5 separate regions of the Homo sapiens genome follow, and regions 2, 3, 4 and 5 are each linked to region 1. Evidence: promoter capture Hi-C in 16 types of primary human blood cells and fetal thymus (Javierre and others, 2016). All regions are on one chromosome and are shown on one strand. Each heading gives the region's core, a stretch centred on a gene start or on the middle of the fragment in contact. The rest is flanking DNA. Distances are from core to core; before and after follow the strand shown. Region 1 holds the start of RPE (ribulose-5-phosphate-3-epimerase). Region 2 holds the start of KLF7 (KLF transcription factor 7). Region 3 holds the start of METTL21A (methyltransferase 21A, HSPA lysine). Region 4 holds the start of CCNYL1 (cyclin Y like 1). Region 5 has its middle 6.6 kb from the start of FZD5.

Region 1 (2,612 bases), core at 39-2,538:
TCATTATCAGTTGGGTGGACTCCTAAGGTAACTGGGTAAAATGCCAAAGAGAAACAATACATTTAACCACATAGAGCAATGGAAGATAAAACTCTTCAAAGCCAGATTAACATTAAAAAGAAAAGGAAATCATCACCTTTAGAAAATAACACCAATTTGCAAACTGAATGAGGGAACACAGGGTTTTTACCTATTTAAAATAAATTTATTTTTCCATCCCCACTCAAGATAATGGTATTTATGATTTTTATAGTCAGTTAACAGTGGGGCTCAGAGAACTACTTGGCAAACCTAGGAAGAGCCAAGTTGCAAGTCTGTCACAATCTTCTGTAATCTTGAGGGAGTCTTACTGCTTTCTCTGGGGTTGTTTCCTCATTCTGTAACCAACTTCAGAAACTAATATCCTGACTCCAAACAATATTATGTGCTGTAACTACGGTGCTTAAAAATTACTTACAAAAAACTGACCTCCCTGAAGAGCAGGGTGCCTGAAGAGAAAATAGACAGGAAAATCAGAATTGTAATAATGATGTAATTAACAATTATAGAGAACTTAATATACGCCAGGCACTGTAAACTTCTCATGTACTCGCTCATTTCATCTTCCAAGATGCCTAAGCGGTAGGTTCTGTTAGTAGTTCCATTTTTCAAATTATGAAACTGAAGCTCAATGAGGTTAGTGGCTTGTCCAAGGTAACCCAGCAAGTGGCAGAACTCGGGAACCTAACCGCAGGTGCCAACTTAAATCGTTAGAGAAGTCTGTTTCCCCAGCTTTGCCACTAACTAGCTATATGAGCTTGGGCAAGTCATGCTTCTCCCCTTGGGCCTCAGTTTCTCTAGCTGAAAGTGAAGAAATGTCCTAAAGATTTAGGTCGCTTCCGGGTCCTAAGTGATGGAAGACCACACGTTACGTGGGGGGAGGGGAGGAACTGAGGTTTGGGACCCGGCCGCAACCCAGGATACCGCGTCGGTTCTGCTCCTGCTAGAGCCTCCAGGGCTCCTACCCCACACCCCTTCTAGCATCGCGTTCAGAGTGAGGCGCTCGGTGGTACAGGGACGCGGTACATCCAACAAGCAGTCAATAAAGGTGCACTGATCCGCCCCGCCGCGCGGCAAGCCCGACCGGAGCCCGGAGGAGTTACCCGTCCATTACGTCCAGGTGCAGATAATCGGCCCCAGAGTCTAGCATCCGGAGGCACTCGGCCCCTAAATTGGCCAGGTCGCTGTTGAGGATGGACGGGCCAATCTTGCAGCCCGACGCCATACCGCTGGCTCCCAAAAGCAAGTTACCCACGAGTCCCCGGCAAGGCTAGAGCGTCACCCCGATTGGGCGCGCAGTTTTGGCCCCGCCCCTTCTCCGTACAGGCTTCCGGATTCTACCGGAAGCAGCCACTCTGCGGTGAGGAAGTCCCGCCTCCTCCTGGGGTGGGGCGCTGTCAGCCGTCCGCCTGGGGCGGGGCGGGGCACACGGGCCTCGTACACCTGATTTTGACCTTCCTTCTTGTGCTGTTTGGATCTTAACGTCCTCGCAGTACTCAAGGCGTTTCTTAACCTTTTTTCACTTTGCTTCTCCTGCAGTTCCCTCTCCTCGGCTCTTGACTTAACATCACTTTTTGTTTCTCCACCCTTTGCATATGCCTTTCTTTCCTCTCCAGCGCCTATGCTGGCCCTTTAAAACAACAATTAAAAACCTTTCTTCCTCGTATTTCTCCTAGAGCTCTTCTTTTGAGCTGGAGGAACCCTGGCTCTGCCAGATACTAGCTGGGTGACCTGGCAAATCACTTCTTAACTTCGGTTTTCTCATCTGTAAAGACAGTGCCCAGCTTTAGGGTTGTATTAAATGAGTGAAGCCAGGTAATGCGCCCAGCAGGATGCCTGGTGCTCAGTACAAAATGGTAGTTATTATTATATTACCCTCTTTTTCTGCCTTTGCAGTTCCTCCTTACCTTTTTTGTTTTTCCCTCTGTTGAGGCTCAGAAAATGATAGCCCAAAGTGAAGGCCTCAGACGCAACAGTGTTTCTCTGACTTCCTGCCCTGCTCTCTTCTCAGTCTCATTCTAGGAGGCAGGTCATAGAAACTGGAGCCCATCTTCCCTAAGAAGAGTCATTGAAACCGGAACCCCCTTTCCCTGAAGCCAGACACAAAACCCAAAAGCATTACTCTAACTTTCCTCCACCTTTCTGTGTAAAAACTGGCCATAAATTATTTGACCCATCTCAACTGTAGGTTATAAAACTCCTCTTCTAGAGAAGGTTCTATCCCATATCCAGGAGGAGGGAATGCTGCACAGAGAGGCCAGGAATCTAAACTAGACTGGCCAAGGCCAGGTCAGTCTATTAGCATTAGATCGCCTATTTTGTCCAATCGTATTTCTACATGGCTGTCTATACTTTGTTGAACCTAAGTATAAAAATGGGTAATCACCCCTGTACCTTTGGGTCTTCATTCTGAAGGCTCCTGTGTCAGGTAAAACTATAATCAAATAAGTTTTTATGCCTTTTCTCCTGTTAATCTTCTTTCTGTCAGTGATTTTCAGCAAACCTTTGGAGGGTGAAGGGAAAGTTTTCCCTTGGCCCCTACACCTCTCCAATGCTCATTCACAAATTGTGAT
Region 2 (2,612 bases), core at 41-2,540, 2.8 Mb after region 1:
AGATCTCTCTATGTCTACATCCCAACTCCAGAAAACGAGAAATCGAGTTCCTCCTCTCACCATCGAAGCTCTGCAGACACCTCGCTGGAGACCCCATGGTGAGCCTCATCACGTAAAGGCCCCCTCGCAAGCTGCCGGCTCCAGCTTGCGCCCCACGTCTACCTAGGCTCCCTCTAGCCTCTTTAACGCACAGTCGAGCAACAGGCCCCTTGCAATCAACTCTAGCCGCCGGACTCCCGACCAGGTCTCTCGCTCGGGGTCAGAAGGAGGCGCGGGAGGGAGGGCGGCGGCGGCGGCGCCCGCGGGGCGGGGCGGGGACTGTGCGCAAGCGGGGGGCGGGCGCAGGCCGCGGTCTCGCTCCGCTCCCCTTTGTTCTCTCCCATTGTGTGGCACTTCCTCCTCAGGCGCTTCTTCTCTGCACCCTGGCAGCCCGTGGGGAGTTCGGGAAGGGGCCCTGGATGCCTTTTCTGCTTGTTTTTGAGTACGTGAGGACCTCCCCGGCACCGCCTCGCGCGGGTCCCTGCCCCGTGCCCAGGCGGAGGCGGGGTGGCCACTGTCCTTCCTTCCCGCTCCGCGCCCTCGGCGGCTTCCCCGCGGCCCCCTGCGCCGCGCCCCCTCCAGGAGGCGTCCTGACCCCGCACTCCGGCCTTTCACCTCCCGACCGTCAGCCTCAGGGCCGCCGCGGCGACGCGCGACCCCTTCCCTCTGAGGGGCGCGGGCTCCGGACGCGCCGGGCTCTGCCAGGCATCTAGTGGAGGGTCGGAGGTCGGCGACCAGCCCGAGCCCAGCCGTCCCGGGAGCTGGCGCGAGTGTCGCCACGACCCTCCCTGTCCCTTGCGCTCGCGCTGCCCGGCCGCCGGGCGGCCGCCTCAGCCCCCTTATATAGCCCTCTAAAAATAGCTCGCCTCGCACCGCCTTGTAAGGCAGCAGGGAGATCCGCAGCGTGCCAATCCGCGCCCGCCGCCAGGGCCAAGCCCCGCCCCAGGCTCTGCTCCGGGCTCCCCATTGGTCCTCAGTGACTTCATGAGCCCCCTGTTTACCTTACATGGTCACACGCGGCCTAATGGACGCCCTCCTCGAGATCCCACGGCTGCGCGGAGAACCGAACGGAGGGAGGGAGTTTGGGGAGGGGGAAGAGCAGGAGGAGGAGAAAAGGGAGGGGGAAGACTACAAACTAGCAAGGATGGGGTGGGGGGTGGGGAGGGAAGGGAAGGGGGGGGAAGAGAAGCGATCGCGAGAGAAAAAAATGCAACCTCCCAAAATAAAGAGCAAAGATTGCATTAGGAGCGAACAGCGCTGCAGAAATAGATGGCAGCTTCGTGTCAGTGAGTTTGCATCCCCCTTCCTGATCCACGAGCTGGAGTGATTAGAGCCCTGGAAGGGAATTGTTACTCCCGTGGAGAAGTCCCCTTTTCCTGGCAGTCGTCTGCACTGTACACGCTGGATGCCTCTCTCCATCCACCCCACTCACTCGCTCCTCTCTCACCTCCTCTCTCCCTCTCCTGCATTGATTTTTTTTTTTCCTTTTTAGTTGACTGAAACAAAACAAAACAAAAGGGCCACTGGATGTCTGCCTTCTTGGGGGGTGAGCCAGACAGACTGACAAACAAACAGCCCCAACTGTGTTCGGGGGAGGGTTTCGCCTCCCGTTTTGCCCGGCAGCAGCAGCATGGACGTGTTGGCTAGTTATAGTATATTCCAGGAGCTACAACTTGTCCACGACACCGGCTACTTCTCAGCTTTACCATCCCTGGAGGAGACCTGGCAGCAGGTGAATGATTTAAATTACTTGTGTAAATCGTGTGGTGGCGGCGGAGACGCAGGGGCTGCGTTGGTGTGGGCTCTGGGTTGAAATTTTTGTTTGTTTGTTTGACTTTTTTTTCTTCCTTTTTGGCTGTCTGTTGTTGAAAATGTTTTCTGAAACAGTCATCTGCGCTTACCTCTCCACCCACCCCTAACCTCGTAGAGTGCCGAGCTGAGCAGCCGGTGCGAGCTGCCTGCGTTTCAGTCGCCAACACACATCCCTGCGCACACGTTGTCGGGTTTGCTGTCCCCTATCAGAGACCTGCCGAACTTCTGGGGTTCGGAGGAGCCGGGTGGGAAGGTGGTTTGGGGTGTTAGGAGCGATTGCTGACAGGGACCACGTTCTCGCATGCATGAGCTCTACCCACTTGATACCTGAAATCAGGTTCATCTGTTTCAACTGGTGCTTATGACCATCGGATGGGGGGCGGGGGAGGGTGGGCAGGAGCAAAGCGGAGTGTTTTTCAGTAATTAGCGAGTGTCAATAAAGAATAGGAGCTTGATTTTGAGATTAGAAGGTAGGCAAAAGAGAGAAGAGCCCACTGACAAAAGATACTCAAGGAGGACGGGAAGATGTAGCTGAGGCTGACAATGAATTGTAGGTTTTCCCAGTGTGATCCCTCCAGAAAGAGAACACCCTCTATGCGTGTCCTTGTTTCTCTTTTTTGTTTAGGGTCCTTCTCTAGTTAGGCAGCACAACCTCGGACAAAGGCTGATGTGTGCTTCCATGCCTTTGACTTTGTCTTAGAGGACTAGTTAAGAAACTCCCAGGATGCTGAAGGGCACCGATGCCAAGTTGGCTAGCCGTC
Region 3 (2,612 bases), core at 76-2,575, 2.4 Mb after region 1:
TACTTTGGAGGCTGAGGCAGGAGAACTGCTTGAACCCGGGAGGTGGAGGCTGCAGTGAGCCGAGATCGCGCCACTGCACTCCAGCCTGGCGACAGAGCAAGACTCCGTCTCAAACAAACAAACAAAATCCCACAAAAATTAGCTGGCGTGCTGGCGCAGGCCTGTAATCCTAGCTACACGGGAGAATGAGGCAGGAGAATCGCTTGAACCCGGAAGGCGGAGACTGCAGTGAGCCGAGTTCGCGCCCTTGCACTCCAGCCTGGGCGACAGAGAGAGACTCCGTCTCAAAACAAAAACAAAAACAAAAACAAAAGCAAAAAACCAAACAAAAAAATCAGCGCTCGGGCCCCCTCCCATGGCCAGCTCTTGGGGCGGGGGACTGGTAAGGGAGGTTTACCCCAGCTGGTTCTAACGTGCAGCCGCGCTGAGAGCGCAGCGGGCGGTGTGGGGCGAGGGGCCCCAGGAGGAAAAAGAAGCCTGCCCCGGGAGGATGCCGGTCCCCGCACGGTCCCACTCAATGGACCCACTCCAGCCGCGCGCTCTGCCAGGGCCTGCGGCCAGGGTACCAGGCCCTCGGCACCTTCCACGTCCAGCGTGGGTCCTCACGGGCAGGTGCGTCTTGGCATCGGGAGGAGGGAGACTGGGGCACTGGAGTCTGCAGCGCCGCCTGGGGCCGGGGCTGGAGCCGAGCGCACGCCCAGAGCTCCGCGCTTCCGACTGCAGCCAGAGCCCGCCGACCCCCGCCCCACTTTAAAAACTTGGACTCGGGCGCCACGTGTTCACTTCCCCCACTGTGCTTTAGTTGAAAAGGGTTTTGTGACTTTTCCACTCGATTGCCGCCAAGCGGGCTATTACGCCGCTTCTGACCCCACCGTGGAGACGCGGGGACTAGAGTGACCATGCCTTCTTCGGAGCGAGCTGTCTCCATCATCCGCTAACGCGCCACCTTTAAAAAACAGGCACAACGCGCAAGCGACAAAGTCAGAGGCAGAGAGCGGCGGAGCACATGATAGAAAAGGTCGAGAGGCACATTCAGCGCCAGGTGGGTGGCTTTTCTCTCCCGCTAGGAGAGCCCAGGGCACCCCATGCTCTCCCTGTGCACCCGCGGCAGTTCGGCACCCCGATCTCACTCTTGCTCCCGCCCCCACAGCGCCTCCCTCGGCGGCGGGGGAAACGGATTAAGTCGTCCGTGTACCCTGGGGACGCACGAGGGAAAGCCCCGGTCCCCCCTCCCGCAACGTCACTCCTCCACCGCGCCACGGCCCGGCCCCGCCCTCGCCGTGAGCTCCGGGGGCACCTGCCGGAGGCTGGGTGCCGGGAGACCGGAAATGCGTGGCTCCGGGCCGGGGCCGCCCGCCCCCGCGTCGCGGGCTCTTTAAGGCCGGCGGTTTTCGCAGCCAGCCCGGGGCGGGGAAAGCGGAGCGCGCGCTCCACGCGGGACCGCCTCCCGGGCCGTAAGTACCGGCGTGGCGGCGCCTCAGCCCGGCCTGGGCGAGCCCTGGGTGCTCCGCCGGGCAGCTCACGGCGCCCCGTATGGCCTGGGGATCCTAAGAGGCCCTGTGACCCCCCTCGCCTGGTCTCCCTCTCACCCCTGGAGGGTTGCCGCAGCTCCGGGGCCCCCGGGCAGGAAGGGCGCACTGGTCGTCCCGGGAGAGGGGTGAGTGGGGGGCAGCTATAGGGGGAGTTCGGGGAGGCCTCCGAGTCCCCGCTGTCCCCGCGAGCCGCTTGGAGGCCCCCAGTGTCGCTCACTTCCAGGGTCGGGGAGACGGAACTGCGGCGACCATGTATTTCTGGTTTATCAAACCGCTAACACCCAGTCTAAGGGCAGGTTCTGTCCCATTGTTATCACTATCGAAGCAGCCGATGGAGGAGGGGAGGTGGGTAGCGAAACCGTAGCGAAAGAACCCGGGCCGCCCGGCTGGCTGCAGCTGCAGTCCGGGCGCCCGGGTCTGGGTTGGAAGCGCTGCTTTCCGCGCTGCTCTGGGGCCCTGGGCGATCACCGCCGCTTCCGCCGCTTGTGTAGTTCTGAATTCACGGAGTGGTAGCAGTGCAGTGTATAGGGTATTCTGCGGAAGTTGGAATGTTCTGGGCTTTTTTTTTCTTCTTCCCCAAACACATCCGTTGACACAAATTCCGAGCCAAATCTCACTCAGATTCGGAAGAGCCATGCAAAAGAAATTGGACAAAGGCTTCCTCCACCTGTTTCTTTTTTTCTTTTGAACTTGTAAACGACCTTAAAAGCATTTGGAGTTAGTTAAGAACAGATAATGTATCTTTTGGCCAGAGCGTCACCCAGGATTCTTTTGCACGGCAGGTCTGAGCAGAGGGCGGGGTGCAGGCGGAATGGCCCTCGTGCCCTATGAGGAGACCACGGAATTTGGGTTGCAGAAATTCCACAAGCCTCTTGCAACTTTTTCCTTTGCAAACCACACGATCCAGATCCGGCAGGACTGGAGACACCTGGGAGTCGCAGCGGTGGTTTGGGATGCGGTAAGTAAGCCCTGGGGGACCTCTGAAAACGTTCACACTTGCAAGACTGGCTTTTATTTTTTATTTTTTTTAGAACAGCTTTATTGAGATATAATTCACATAGCATACACTTTACCTATTTA
Region 4 (2,612 bases), core at 81-2,580, 2.3 Mb after region 1:
GTGGCGCACGCCTGTAATCCCAGCTACTCGGGAGGCTGAGGCAGAGGAATCGCTTGAAACCGAGAGGCGGAGGTTGCAGCGAGCCGAGATCGCGCCACTGCACTCCAGCCTGGGCGGGCGACAAAACGAGATTCCGTCTCAAAAAAACAACTTGTCTGCACCCCTGGTAATAACCTCTCACACCCTTCACAGTCATTTTACGCCCCTCCCCCCATTTTCTTTCTTTCTGTGTTCAAATTATAGTTGGAAGGAATAAAGCAGCTTCTTTCACGCCGACTTAACCTATTAGGAATACCATATAGTGTCTCCTATGGCAACCTCTATTTTGAGTCTAGATAAGAAATCCTCAAACATCTGGGTCTAAACTGTCGCGGGCATCAGCTATCTTCACGGATGGGAGGAAGGAACAATCAGACCCTTACCTGGTTCCTTCACTTAGGTACCATCTGGATGGGTTAAGGGAGGGAATGGGATGAGTACTCCGAAGTTGAGGTATTTGAGTTTCCATTGAGAAAAGGAAAACAATATACCCCAAAAGTCTTAGCAAAGTCCCACCAGACAATGAACAGAGCTACAAACAAGAAGGGCGGCGGACTAGAGGGTCCCACGCCGGCTTGGGAGAATGGGAAGCGGGAGCAAGAACTGGGCGTTACGGTAAGGAGGAGGAAAAGAAACTGGCCAGACGCAGCAGGGCAAGAATAAGGGGTGGGGACGCGAGGCAGAACCAGCCTTCGTCCCGGGGCCGGCTACCGGCAGGAAGGAGCCCGAGGCGGCGGATGCCTCCCGGGGGACTCTGGGGGAGGAGGCGGGCAGAGGTGAGCCCGAGGGCGGATGGCATCCGCCGCCTCCTTACCTTCGGGCATCTCGCGGTCGCTGATGTGCTGCAGGTGGTGGCCCTCGCCCTCTCCGAAATCCAACTCGGCAGGCTCCACCACAGCGGGCGCTACCGCCACCGCGTCCCCGGACACCGCCTCGTAGATGTCGGACGCGCAGTACAGCTCCGCCGACCCCGCGCGCCGGCCCAGCTTGGGGCTGGCATTGGGGGACACGCAACAGGTCAGCGTGTTCCCCATGGGAAGCCTCCGCTCCTCTCTGCCACCGCCTTCGCTCGCCCCCTACTCCGCCGCCCTCAACAGCCGCCCCCTCCCCCAACAATGGCGCGGCCGGCACCGGCAGCCCCGGGCTACGCTGGGGCTGCACCGCGCAAGCAGACGCCGCCTCGCCCGCGGTTCGCCCGCCCGCCCCGCGGCCCGGCCCCGGGCAGGGCTCGGGCCTCGGCCGCACCCCCACCGCCGCGCTGCCGCCGCCTCCCTTAAGCTGACTCGTCTGCGAGGGCGGTGACCAGCCCGGCTTATTTAAAAGGGGTGGGGAACCCAACAAGCGCTGTGAAGCACAGCCACTGCCGGGAGAGAGCGCGGCTGGAGCTCCTCCTCCTTCCGCCGCCGCCTACCGACTGAAGGCCGCTGGCCCTGGCCGGTGCCTGCCAACCGGAACGCGACCTGCGGTCACCTGGTTAGGAGGAACCAATCATGGTCAGAGTTCCCCCTCCGGCGCCCGCCTCGAAGCCAGGCACGTGACCTGCTGCCCCGCCCCCGCCTGGCAGCTGCCCAGCCCCTCACGCCGCTATCCCAGACTCGGGTTTTCATTCATCGCTGGCTGCTGGGAGCTTTCCGGTCCTACTGGAAGCGCACGGGCATTTGTAACTGGAAGCTGTGTCAATGATCTCTGTAGAAAGCCGTTATTAGTAAAGAGTTCGCTCCATTAGCAACTCTTCTTCCGAGTCTGACAGCTTTCGTTTGCTCACTAAACTTGGTTACACCCAAATTGTTAACTGTTTTTGTAACTCAGTGCTCCGCTCCTGTCTTCCAATGAGCGTTAGTTTTCACCTGCAACGTGATCATAGCAACCCTGGGGCCCTGGTCCTACTCTCCATAAAGAGTTGTGGCTGTGGGTCTTGAATGAGACTCGAGGACACGTCACCCTTCCACTTCCTCATCCATAAAATAGGGACCTAACTCGTCCCTGCCAACTCTGAAATGCTGGGACTCGCCAACTCCCTTTTCTTGCCTGTTTCTCTCCTCTAGGCAGGGACTTCCAGGTTTCTCTTCTTGTACTAAAAACAGCACAGAAAGCACGATTTTCTCACGCAAAACTGAGAACCATGCAGTGGGGCACCACAGTCTTGATTCCATGAAGATGAATAGTTACCATTTGGCAAGCACTATGTGCCAGACAGTGTTCCAACTGTGGTATATTTATTTAACCCTTAAAAACAATCCCGGCCGGGCGCGGTGGCTCATGCCTGTAATCCCAACACTTTGGGAGGCCGAGGCGGGCGGATCACCAGGTCAGGAGATCCAGACCATCCTGGCTAACACGGTGAAATCCCGTCTCTACTAAAAATACAAAAAATTAGCCGGGCATGGTGGCACGCGCCCGTATTCCCAGCTACTCGGGAGGCTGAGGCAGGAGAATCACTTGAACCCGGGAGGCAGAGGTTGCCGTAAGCCGAGATCGCGCCATTGCACTCCAGCCTGGGCGACCTAGGCTCCGTTTCAAAAAAATAAAACATAAAAATAAAAATAAATAAACAAATATATATATATACACAC
Region 5 (2,612 bases), core at 53-2,552, 2.2 Mb after region 1:
GCCTGTAATCCCAGCACTTTGGGAGGCCAAGGCAGGCTGACAGCTTGAGCCTAGGAGTTTGAGACCAGCCTGAGCAATGTGGCAAAACCCCATCTATACAAAAAATCAAAAATCAGCTGGGCATGGTGACACAGGCCTATAGTCCCAACTACCTAGGAGGCTGAGGTGGGAGGATCGCTTGAGCCCAGGGGGTCAAGGCTGCAGTGAGCCTTGATTGCACCACTGCACTCCAGCCTGGGTGACAGAGCAAGACCCTGTCTCAAAAAAACAAAAACAAACAACAAAAAAATAAATACCTACAGAGGTTTCTACTTCCTATACTAAACCCTGATGGACCGTCTAACCCATAGGCCAGCCTGGGTCTTCCCTGAACCACCAGGTTGTGCTAAGTGCCTCGTGTGAGCTCCCACTATGCCCCACATTGTAAGTTCCTGCCTTTTCATCTTGTGACCCTGGCACCAGTGCTTGGCTCACAGCAGGTGCAGAGTCAGTGTTTAATGAACTGAAGCTCCCTCTGCCAAGATACTGGGAGGTTCTATAATCTAGCTTAAGGGGCACTCCACCTCCTGCTTGCTCTGCAAAGCCCAAAGAACATGTTGCCTCTGGACGCTTACTGGATTCAAGATGAATCCCAGGTCCTCGACTTTTCCACGCTTGAACCACCCCGCCACAAGAGGCCACACCAGAATTGGAGAGTTGACCTGGTCCCAGGAAAAAGGTGCTAAGGAGCAAGAAAAATTGCTTATCTCAAGATTTACCATCTGGTTGTTCTTAGGGCCCTGTACTTGATGAATGGTTGCTGCTAGGCTGCAGTGAAGGCTGCAGTGAATGAGAGCATCGGCTTTGAGGCCAGGGAAACCCTCCAAGTTGGAAGGTGTGCAAGCTTCAGCAAGTCACTCAGCTTGTTTGAACCTCAGGTTTTTGTTTGTTTTCGAGACAGGGTCTCACTCTGTCGCCCAGGCTGGAGTGCAGTGCAGTGGTGTGACCATGGCTCACTGCAGCCTCAACCTCTGGGGCTCAAGCGATCCTCCCATCTCAGCCTCCTGAGCAGCTGGAACCACAGGTGCCTGCCACCACGCCCCACTAATATAAAAATAAAACCTTTTTTTTTGTAGAGCTGGAAGTCTCCCTATGTTGCCCAGGCTGGTCTCGAACTCTTGAGCTCAAGAGACCCTCCCACCTCAGCCTCCTAAAGTGCTGGGATTACAGGCATGAGCCACTCACCCAGCCATGATTTTTCATCTATAACATGGGAATGATAAAATCAATCTTACAGGATTCTTAGGCATAAAAAGGTATGCATAAAATGTCAAATGCTTAGTACAGTGCATGTACTTATGAAGTGCTCCATACTTATCAGTAGCTCTTGTAATGGTCATCATTGTTGTCACTTCATCACAATTCTGTTGCTTTATATAATTTTTCCTTCAGCCTAAACAGACTCGGATGCGATTAGCCTAGAATGCAGTTCTTTATACCTATTCCCAGTGTTCCATTTTACACACTGATGTGAATAACCCTCCTTGCAAAAGACTCAGCTAGGCCCAAGTCTGGGGCTGTACTGAGGAAACACCAAAACCATCTATGCCAGTGGTTCTCCACCCTAGCCAAAAACAGGGTTAAGACTTAAAAACAAAACCACCACCAAAACAAACAAATAAACCAAAACACATTTCCTGTCCCTCAACCAGAGACTCCGATTAAACAGGGCCCAAGCTTCAGTATTTCTAAAAGCTCCCCGGTGATTGCAATGCGCAGCTGAGGGCCACTGATCAGCGTGGCAAAGATTAGCCCAGTACTTCCATTACCCCGAGGAGAAAAAGAAAGCTGCTTTTACTCTTCTATAATCTCCACCACATTGTAGGAGAAGAGAGGACTGAAGATTACTGTTGAATTATTCCACTTACAAAAGATACTCTCATTATGAACCCAGGAAAAATGGCTCATTGTTTTAATCCTCTGGTTTGTGTCTCGAGGTATCTGATACGATGGGAAGAGCAGTGATCAGAGATGCTGTAGGACATGTTGGGAGCTAGTCTGGAAATACCTGTGAGGAACTTGGGTTGGCTGGTGGCCTCTATCCTGAGCCAGCAAGTGTGCACATACATGGTTACTGATAATCAGGAGTGTGCACTTTGATCCTGGGCAAGTGACACGATCCCTGCTTTGGCACTAAATTTACCAATATCTAAGTGCCAGAGATAGCTGGTGAGAGCCTGCAGTGTTCTCAGAAATAAAGTACACCTGGAAAAAAATAGTTATTTTTTCCCTTGTTAAAGTAATATACAAAAGAAAATACAGAAAACTGGAAAAACAGAATGAACCTTAGAAGAAACTAATAATAATAGCCAAGACCTATAGAGACTCAGGGGCTAGACATGGTTCTAAGCTCTTTACCATATAAATATACTTACTCCTCACTATAGCTCTGGGAGGTAGATAACTATTTCTAACTCTATTTTACAGAGAAGTAAGGGGGCCTGGAGCTGTTAGGTGACTTGCCCGAGGTTGCCTAGCTTGTAAAGGCAGAGCCAAAATTTGGACTTAGGCTTCATTTAACAGGACCTGGTCAACCTCAGAGGGAGAGTTCATCTGAATTCAAGGACTGAATG

What was found. Contacts are between HindIII fragments. The CHiCAGO score rates a contact against its expected background, and 5 or more counts as called.
Region 2: the fragment with the promoter of KLF7 here is called in contact with the fragment with the promoter of RPE in region 1 in 1 of 17 cell types (M0 macrophages); the score reaches 7.0 in M0 macrophages.
Region 3: a contact is called between the fragment with the promoter of METTL21A here and the fragment with the promoter of RPE in region 1, in 3 of 17 cell types (total CD8 T cells, M0 macrophages and monocytes). The highest score is 8.3, in total CD8 T cells.
Region 4: a contact is called between the fragment with the promoter of CCNYL1 here and the fragment with the promoter of RPE in region 1, in 1 of 17 cell types (total CD8 T cells). The highest score is 6.4, in total CD8 T cells.
Region 5: a fragment that was not itself captured here is called in contact with the fragment with the promoter of RPE in region 1 in 1 of 17 cell types (neutrophils); the score reaches 6.9 in neutrophils.

Annotation. Positions count from the first base shown.
Region 1 is chr2:210,001,314-210,003,925 of GRCh38, reverse strand. It overlaps RPE (ribulose-5-phosphate-3-epimerase), which reads right to left and starts at 1,288. Exons shown (of 6, transcript NM_199229.3): 1 at 1,143-1,288. The coding sequence starts at 1,264. RefSeq lists enhancers at 1,020-1,189, 1,230-1,279. The HindIII fragment of the contact is 5,690 bases long and covers 1-2,612 here.
Region 2 is chr2:207,164,626-207,167,237 of GRCh38, reverse strand. It overlaps KLF7 (KLF transcription factor 7), which reads left to right and starts at 1,290. Exons shown (of 4, transcript NM_003709.4): 1 at 1,290-1,771. The coding sequence starts at 1,670. MIR7845 (microRNA 7845) reads right to left here and starts at 838; the gene lies at 740-838. RefSeq lists enhancers at 1-154, 155-862, 863-1,571, 1,579-1,678, 2,280-2,612 and a silencer at 449-1,088. The HindIII fragment of the contact is 8,010 bases long and covers 1-2,612 here.
Region 3 is chr2:207,624,107-207,626,718 of GRCh38, reverse strand. It overlaps METTL21A (methyltransferase 21A, HSPA lysine), which reads left to right and starts at 1,325. Exons shown (of 4, transcript NM_001127395.5): 1 at 1,325-1,657; 2 at 2,315-2,490. The coding sequence starts at 2,344. RefSeq lists enhancers at 1-154, 155-859 and a silencer at 1,130-1,729. The HindIII fragment of the contact is 10,824 bases long and covers 1-2,612 here.
Region 4 is chr2:207,710,358-207,712,969 of GRCh38, reverse strand. It overlaps CCNYL1 (cyclin Y like 1), which reads right to left and starts at 1,330. Exons shown (of 10, transcript NM_001330218.2): 1 at 854-1,330. The coding sequence starts at 1,073. RefSeq lists silencers at 507-666, 679-788, 1,209-1,658 and enhancers at 530-1,526, 1,879-1,928, 1,939-2,138. The HindIII fragment of the contact is 3,390 bases long and covers 1-2,612 here.
Region 5 is chr2:207,775,191-207,777,802 of GRCh38, reverse strand. No RefSeq gene overlaps it. Among named protein-coding and RNA genes, the nearest start is that of FZD5, 6.6 kb to the right of the region's middle. The HindIII fragment of the contact is 833 bases long and covers 886-1,718 here.